Regions from separate parts of the Homo sapiens genome. Here region 1 is linked to region 2. Evidence: promoter capture Hi-C in human tissues and cell types (Jung and others, 2019). All regions are on one chromosome and are shown on one strand. Each heading gives the region's core, a stretch centred on a gene start or on the middle of the fragment in contact. The rest is flanking DNA. Distances are from core to core; before and after follow the strand shown.

Evidence for each region. Contacts are between HindIII fragments. The study calls those that stand out against the background at their distance.
Region 1: a fragment that was not itself captured here is called in contact with the fragment with the promoter of KCNB2 in region 2 in 2 of the 25 tissues and cell types used here (dorsolateral prefrontal cortex and hippocampus).

The regions. Positions count from the first base shown.
Region 1 is chr8:72,576,472-72,579,829 of GRCh38, reverse strand. The region is part of intron 2 of KCNB2 (potassium voltage-gated channel subfamily B member 2); the gene reads right to left. Among named protein-coding and RNA genes, the nearest start is that of KCNB2, 41 kb to the right of the region's middle. The HindIII fragment of the contact is 3,592 bases long and covers 1-3,302 here.
Region 2 is chr8:72,535,609-72,538,674 of GRCh38, reverse strand. KCNB2 (potassium voltage-gated channel subfamily B member 2) reads right to left here and starts at 1,450. Exons shown (of 3, transcript NM_004770.3): 1 at 790-1,450. RefSeq lists silencers at 1,391-1,440, 1,601-1,660, 1,671-1,720, 1,731-1,860. The HindIII fragment of the contact is 6,044 bases long and covers 69-3,066 here.

The sequences.
Region 1 (3,358 bases), core at 257-2,756, 41 kb before region 2:
AAGAAGATAGAGTAAGGGTTGCAAGAACACTCTGATGATACTAGGAAGTTGTATCCATACCTCACAGAGGACTTTGAAAACAGAAGCTAATACAGCCTTGTGAAAGCATCTGTTACTGTATTAGGTATCAATTAACAGTCTCTTTCCCCAGAGTTAAATTTCTGCTCAAATAGAAGGCTCTGGGGATAGTGACGCTATTACGAGAAAGCGGAAAGTAAAACCAGCTTAACTTGCACAGCCCGAGTTCACGGATTAAGGGAGGGCAGAGGGTGGGTGAAGAATCAGCTTCTCTCAAAGGGAGAGGAAAAGTATTATGTAGATGCTGATTTTAAAGAGTTGACAAGAGAAAATTCTACTTGTCTTAGCCTCCGATGCTTTAGGATAAAGAAAAACACACACCTTCTTTATAGATTAAAGTCCAAATGAAATCCATTTGGAGGGTGAGCTAGCTTCTTCAATTCGGACTCTTACAATATTCAATTTTGTGAAAATTTAAGTAGACATCAACTCATGAAAAGATTTACAACCAGATGAAAAATAAATATGAAGTCTGATTGGAGCCAAAGAAATTCAGTAGAAAATCAACAGTTGTTCAGTAAAGTATAACCCAAACAGTCCTAGGTGAGGAGGGCTCTCGAGGGGCTCAGTGGGGCTCTGAGCGGAGCAGGCAGTGGGAAAGGAGCTAAGAAGCAGGTATGTAGAGATTAACAGAACCTCCTCAGGCAGAAATAAAATCATGGCTGAAGGAAGAAAGAAAGACATTTCCTTATTTGGGCCGTGCTGCAATGAAAATGACATCTGGATATTTTCCAAGTTCCCATTGGTGGCAATATGGTGCCTTAGAGAACCTCTTCTGCACAGAAAGTACACCATGAGGCCACCCACCCCACCACAGCCAGGTCAGATAAACAGCAAAGGCCTGTCATCTGATCTGCAGGCTCACTTATTTTTAAATGTATGCATCAAAGTGCAACGGGGGAGAAAAGCTCATCAAAGCTTTGGCATTTGCCAAACAACTCAACCAAGATGGGTAAACAAAGAATCCAAAACAGTTTTTTTTCAATTATAATATTTATTTCTTTAAGTTCATAAATACACTTGGTATATTGTTAAAATCTGCCTATCAAAACAGTTTACTGCCTTAAAGTTTCCTCAGGCTAATCTGTATATAAAACTATTTTTAAAAGGTGTGTGTGACTAGCACTTGGTAAATATTCCATGTAATTTAAAATATTTATAATGGCTCATGAGTTAGAGTCTGAAAAATAAAGACCAGGGCTTAAAACCGATTTTTTTTGCTTTGAATTTTAATATTACTCATAATGCAATTACTTTACTTATATAACACAATAATTTTCACACCTGCAGAATTCTTTTAAGAAATATAATAAAGTGTGTTAGCTTTTTTACATAGCAAATATGAAATGGCAAATTCATGTTATCCTAGATTCTGGCCTACTATTTCATATTTTCACTGCATACATAGTTCATTCCATCTGTAGTATGGCAAATTATCACCTTTTAGAAAGTAAGATTACCTACTAACGTTTTTCTGCCTCTAAACTAAAAAATGCACTGAAATAGAACAGGTTGTTCACCACAGGGATATTATGTAGGGCCTCTGCTAGTTTCCCAAAGTAAATTTCCATTGTATTAATGAAATACATCTAATTTATCACAGCATGACTCTGTTGCTGTTCTTCAGAGTGTCATTGATTTATTTTTTAATTCAACCAAATCCTGAATAAAACTACATGCTCTGACATGAATGTACAAGTTAGATGGTCCTATACAAAATGTTGCCAGATACAAATGCAATTCTAAGATACAAACTAAAATGTGAGTGTTTTAAAAAATCTATATTTGAAGAATCCATTTGGTTAAGAACTTAACTTAGATGACAGCAGATAGGACAACTGCCCTTCAGTATTCCAAATTGAGCTCTAGATAGTATATTGATTAAAGCTAAAACGATGACTTGAAGGCTAGGGTTCTTCCTCTCCTGTGCAAATATCCTGAGGTTGGTTGCAGTGACGGATGCTGCAACCAAGCAAACCCATCTGGAGCTGCACCGGGTTGACTTGGCTGTCCTTGGCACTGCTGTGGCGTAGGCTTGAAGTAGCTATTTAAAGTGGCATCCAACACTTGGGGTTGCATCACGAGTGACCCAATGAGAGAGAAGTTAAAGCGTGAAATCTAGGGTGGCAATGACCTCTAGCATCCTGAAACAAAATCTTGGGAGACTAATAAAAATATTTCTTCCTTCTATTCTTGGACCATGAGAGCACTTCCTATGAATTTTCATGCCCTATCAGGTTATCACAAAAGTTTGTATTCTGAATGGGCTGACTGTCTTATTTGGATGACAAAGTTGCATCTATTCTAAATTGCCAAATACATGCTGAAGTTCATTGCTTTTTCTGCAGGTGGGTTCTTTACAATAGAACATACTCTAATGAAGAGGTGGTAGTATATATAAGTAACATCTCTCTCTCTCTATCTCTTTCTCACACACACACACACATACACACACACATACACATGGGCACATACAACAGACTTTGTCTGGGTACTACTCAGTGAGGGCTGCTGCTACTGGCTTCAGCCACCGTAGACACAGAAACTTGACAACAAACATCAGTTGGGTTCAGGTACCTGTCCTTAGTAATATCCAGAGGAATTCTTTTACTTAAAACTTTGTAAAGACATTAAAGGAGATGATTTAAGTGGAAAAATACATTCATTTTATGCATTAGTTAAGGAGTTAACTTAAACCTAGATATATGCACAGCCAAAAATAAATACTATATGGGTGCAAAGTCTGATATAGTTCTGATGTTAGTTCCTAGTATCTCCTGGAAAAACTTTGGAGAGATGAAAGCAAATGTCTTCCTCTTCCATTTTTCTATTTCCTGCCTCTGTGCCAGTTACTACATGTCTCTGTTCCTCATTCATCCATAAATAGCTGTTTTATTCTAGCTTCATTATGTTTGTGTTAAGCCTGACATAGCAATTGCAGAGAAGTCTCAGTCTCTTCAAGTCCTTCAATGTTTTGCTTATAAACTCTAAAGTGATCATCAACTACGGTCCAGGGGACACTGGGAAAGGAGGTTAAGAACTGGATGTTGCTGATAGATACAGTAAGTGCAACTTGCCTCTAGTGCCCACATACTATGTGGAACAGCTTGCTGGTGTGGCTTGGGGTCACCTTCATCTTTCTCTGTCCTGCTGCAGAGGGAGAAAGGATTTTAATGACCAAACAGGCTGTTAGTGGGCAAAAATAATTCCCAAGCTTACTGTTATCTTGAAAAGCTTCTACCACCTCTTAGAATACTGAGATAGAATATTTTCAATGAGG
Region 2 (3,066 bases), core at 201-2,700:
TAACCCAGTGTATGTGCATACTAAATTTTTTTCAATGTAATCTTGTATGCATTATTACTTATTGTTGAAACACATGTGCAGTCATAAATGTTGCATAAATGGCATGTTTGTGCATATTGCACACTGACAGTTTTTATGAATGAATACGCATAAATGCTCACAACTCGAGAAAATGGATGGCGGCATACTATTTTGAAGAGGATCATTAAGCATCGGGAGCAAATGATGAGGCAAATGGTCGATGTCTTTTGGTGCTATTCAGGGCAAACGTATTCCCAAGTCCCCTAGCAGAGTGTGTTGGAAACAGCCATGAAGCTCTTTCCTTAGAGACCCGTTCTCCCTCTCAGGAATCGTGCTACAGAACGGAGACCGCGCACCGCTTGAAGAATAAAATGCACGCATGTCTCTGTGTTCTGAGGATCGTTCATACATCAGAGACATCACACTCCCTAAATCCAGTCCCACAAGTGTGTGCATGTGAGTGTGGCATTTACCAACAAATGGACGGAAGGCAACAAGAGCTCGGCTCCTAGAAATAACATCCCCATCCCTTCCCAGTCAGGCTGCTGGGAAGCTTTTCAGGGGCTAATACTTGAGCGCCTTCCCCACCGGGAAGGAGCCTGACATTAAAAACCCTCTCAGGGCTAAGTCAGCTTTGTGTGTAAGTCCACTGGGCGCCATATGGCAGTTTCCAATTCCTTTAGCAACTCAAGTCTGGCTAGGCTGCCGCGATGATTCATTCTTAAAGGAAGACCCCCTTCGGGGAGCAGCAATGCCCCCGCCACTTACCTAGCTCCCACAGACCCCGCTCAGCAGGCGGCACGGGCTCGGGCACCACAAAGGGCTGTGGGATTCCCCGCTCCCTCCGGGGAGCCTCTCCCCGCGACGATCCCCTTCGCCAATGACCTGTCGCTGGAAATCCCCCTCCCCTCCACAGAGAGGAGGGTCTCCCCGGCTGGCTGGAGCTCCCGGCGTGCTTTCCCCCTGTCTTTACATCCCTGACTCTGGTTCACGGTCTCTAGTAGGAAGGCTCAGAGGAAAGGCGGCGGGAGGAAGCTAAGGCATCCTTTAAAAGAACAATAATCTTCATCGATCTTCAACCCCTTCCCCACACGGGGTCCCCATCCCCCTGCCGCCGCCACAGCCACCCAGACAAGAGAGGGCTGGAACAGAAGAGGAAAAATCGAGCGGGGCTGAGCTCGCCGCGCGGAAGGAGCCAGAAAGCGAGCCGCGCCAGCCCGGGAGTTGCCGCTCGCTGGGGCTGCCCGAGGCGCAGCGGCGGCGGCGGCCGCGGGGGCGGAGGGCGGAGGGCGGAGGGCGGTGGGTGCTTGGTGGGTGTGTGTCTGTGGCGGAGCAGGGTAGAGGCTGCGCGCGGGAGGCTAGGCGGGGCGCTCTGGGGCGCCGCTCCCCCGCCCCGCAGCTAGCCGGCCCGGCGCGCACACAGGGCTGCGGCCACCCCAGCCTCCCGCTCCGCCTCCTCCCGCGCTCCGCGCACCCGCGGGCTGGAGCGGCCGCCGCCTTCTCTTCCTCCTCCCCCTCCCCCTCTTCCTCCTCAGCGCTCCCGGCTGTCAAGGTGGGCGGCGGGGCGGGATGGCTGGGCTGCGCGAGCCGGCAGCGCACCGCCGGGGACGCCGGGGCTCTGCCTCGCGGCGCCGGAGCTGTGCGCTCGGCCGGGGACAGCGCTCTGGTGCCCAGGGCGCGGCTGGGGCGCGGGCAGGCACCGCCCACACCTCGGCGGGGTGCCTCCCTCAGCTTCCGCGCGCCAGCCACTCCTGCTGCCCCGGGCCTGGCTCCACACCCACCTGCTTCGCTCTGCAGCTCCCACCCGGCTGCACTGGACTAGAGGGACGCAGCCCCCGCGGCTGCCGCGCACCCGGGGCCGGGAAAGCCCCGGGAGGCCCCGCCGCGACGCGCTCCGGCGGCTTCGCGGGATTCCCTCGGCCCTTCTGCTTCCAACTGCAGGGCTGTCCTCCCGCCCGCCCACAGCAGGACCCTGACCCTGGGCTGACTGCTCGACCCCGGGGAACTGGGGCGAAGACAGATGGCTCCTGAGTGGTGGTGCCAGGATTATTTTCCTGGAGAAAGAGCTGCGGAGATAACTAGGAGCGCAGATAAGATCTGACTTTCCTCGCGGCACCTGCAGCCCCGCTCGCTCGGGGGCCGTCCCTAGCCCCAAGTGACCCGGCTTTCCTGGGTTTGAGGGTAAAGCCGGGTCCGTGGCAACCTTAACCCTTGCTTCTCACGGGGGCGCTCTTCATACCCTTCTTTCTTTCCTTTGCCTATCAACTTACCAGCTGGAAAACTATGCCAAGTTACCCCTTGGCGAGGCCGCAGGGTGAACACTTAGACCTGTACCCACTTCCAGGGCTCGGTAAAGACAATGAACTTGAATAATAACACTGAGCCTTACATATTTCTGACCCCAGTGCTCCTTCACAGGCACGAAATAGAGACAGCTGGCACGGTTACAGGGGCTTTCAGGAAAACAAAGTAGCTTAAAACACCTTTTAGAAACGAACGCAGGCCGTGACAAGTCTATTTAAAGCTGGGACTCCTGAGTTTCTATAGACCAAGAAGGATGGCTGTTGAGGAAGTTCCAAGTACACTGTTTTATTTATATTTATTTATTTATTTATTTATTTATTTTTTCCTTGTATCTTCTGTTTATTGAGTGTTTTTTTAAATTTTATTATTATTATACTTTTAAGTTTTAGGGTACATGTGGGTTTGTTACATATGTATACATGTGCCATGTTGGTGTGCTGCACCCATTAACTCGTCATTTAGCATTAGGTATATCTCCTAATGCTATCCCTCCCCCCTCCCCCCACCCCACAACAGTCCCCGGTGTGTGATATTCCCCTTCCTGTGTCCATGTGTTCTCATTGTTCAATTCCCACCTAGGAGTGAGAACATGCGGTGTTTGGTTTTCTGTCCTTGCGATAGTTTGCTGAGAATGATGATTTCCAGTTTCATCCATATCCCTACAAAGGACATGAACTCATCATTTTTTATGGCTGCATAGTATTCCATGGTGTATATGTGCCACATTTTCTTAATCCAGTC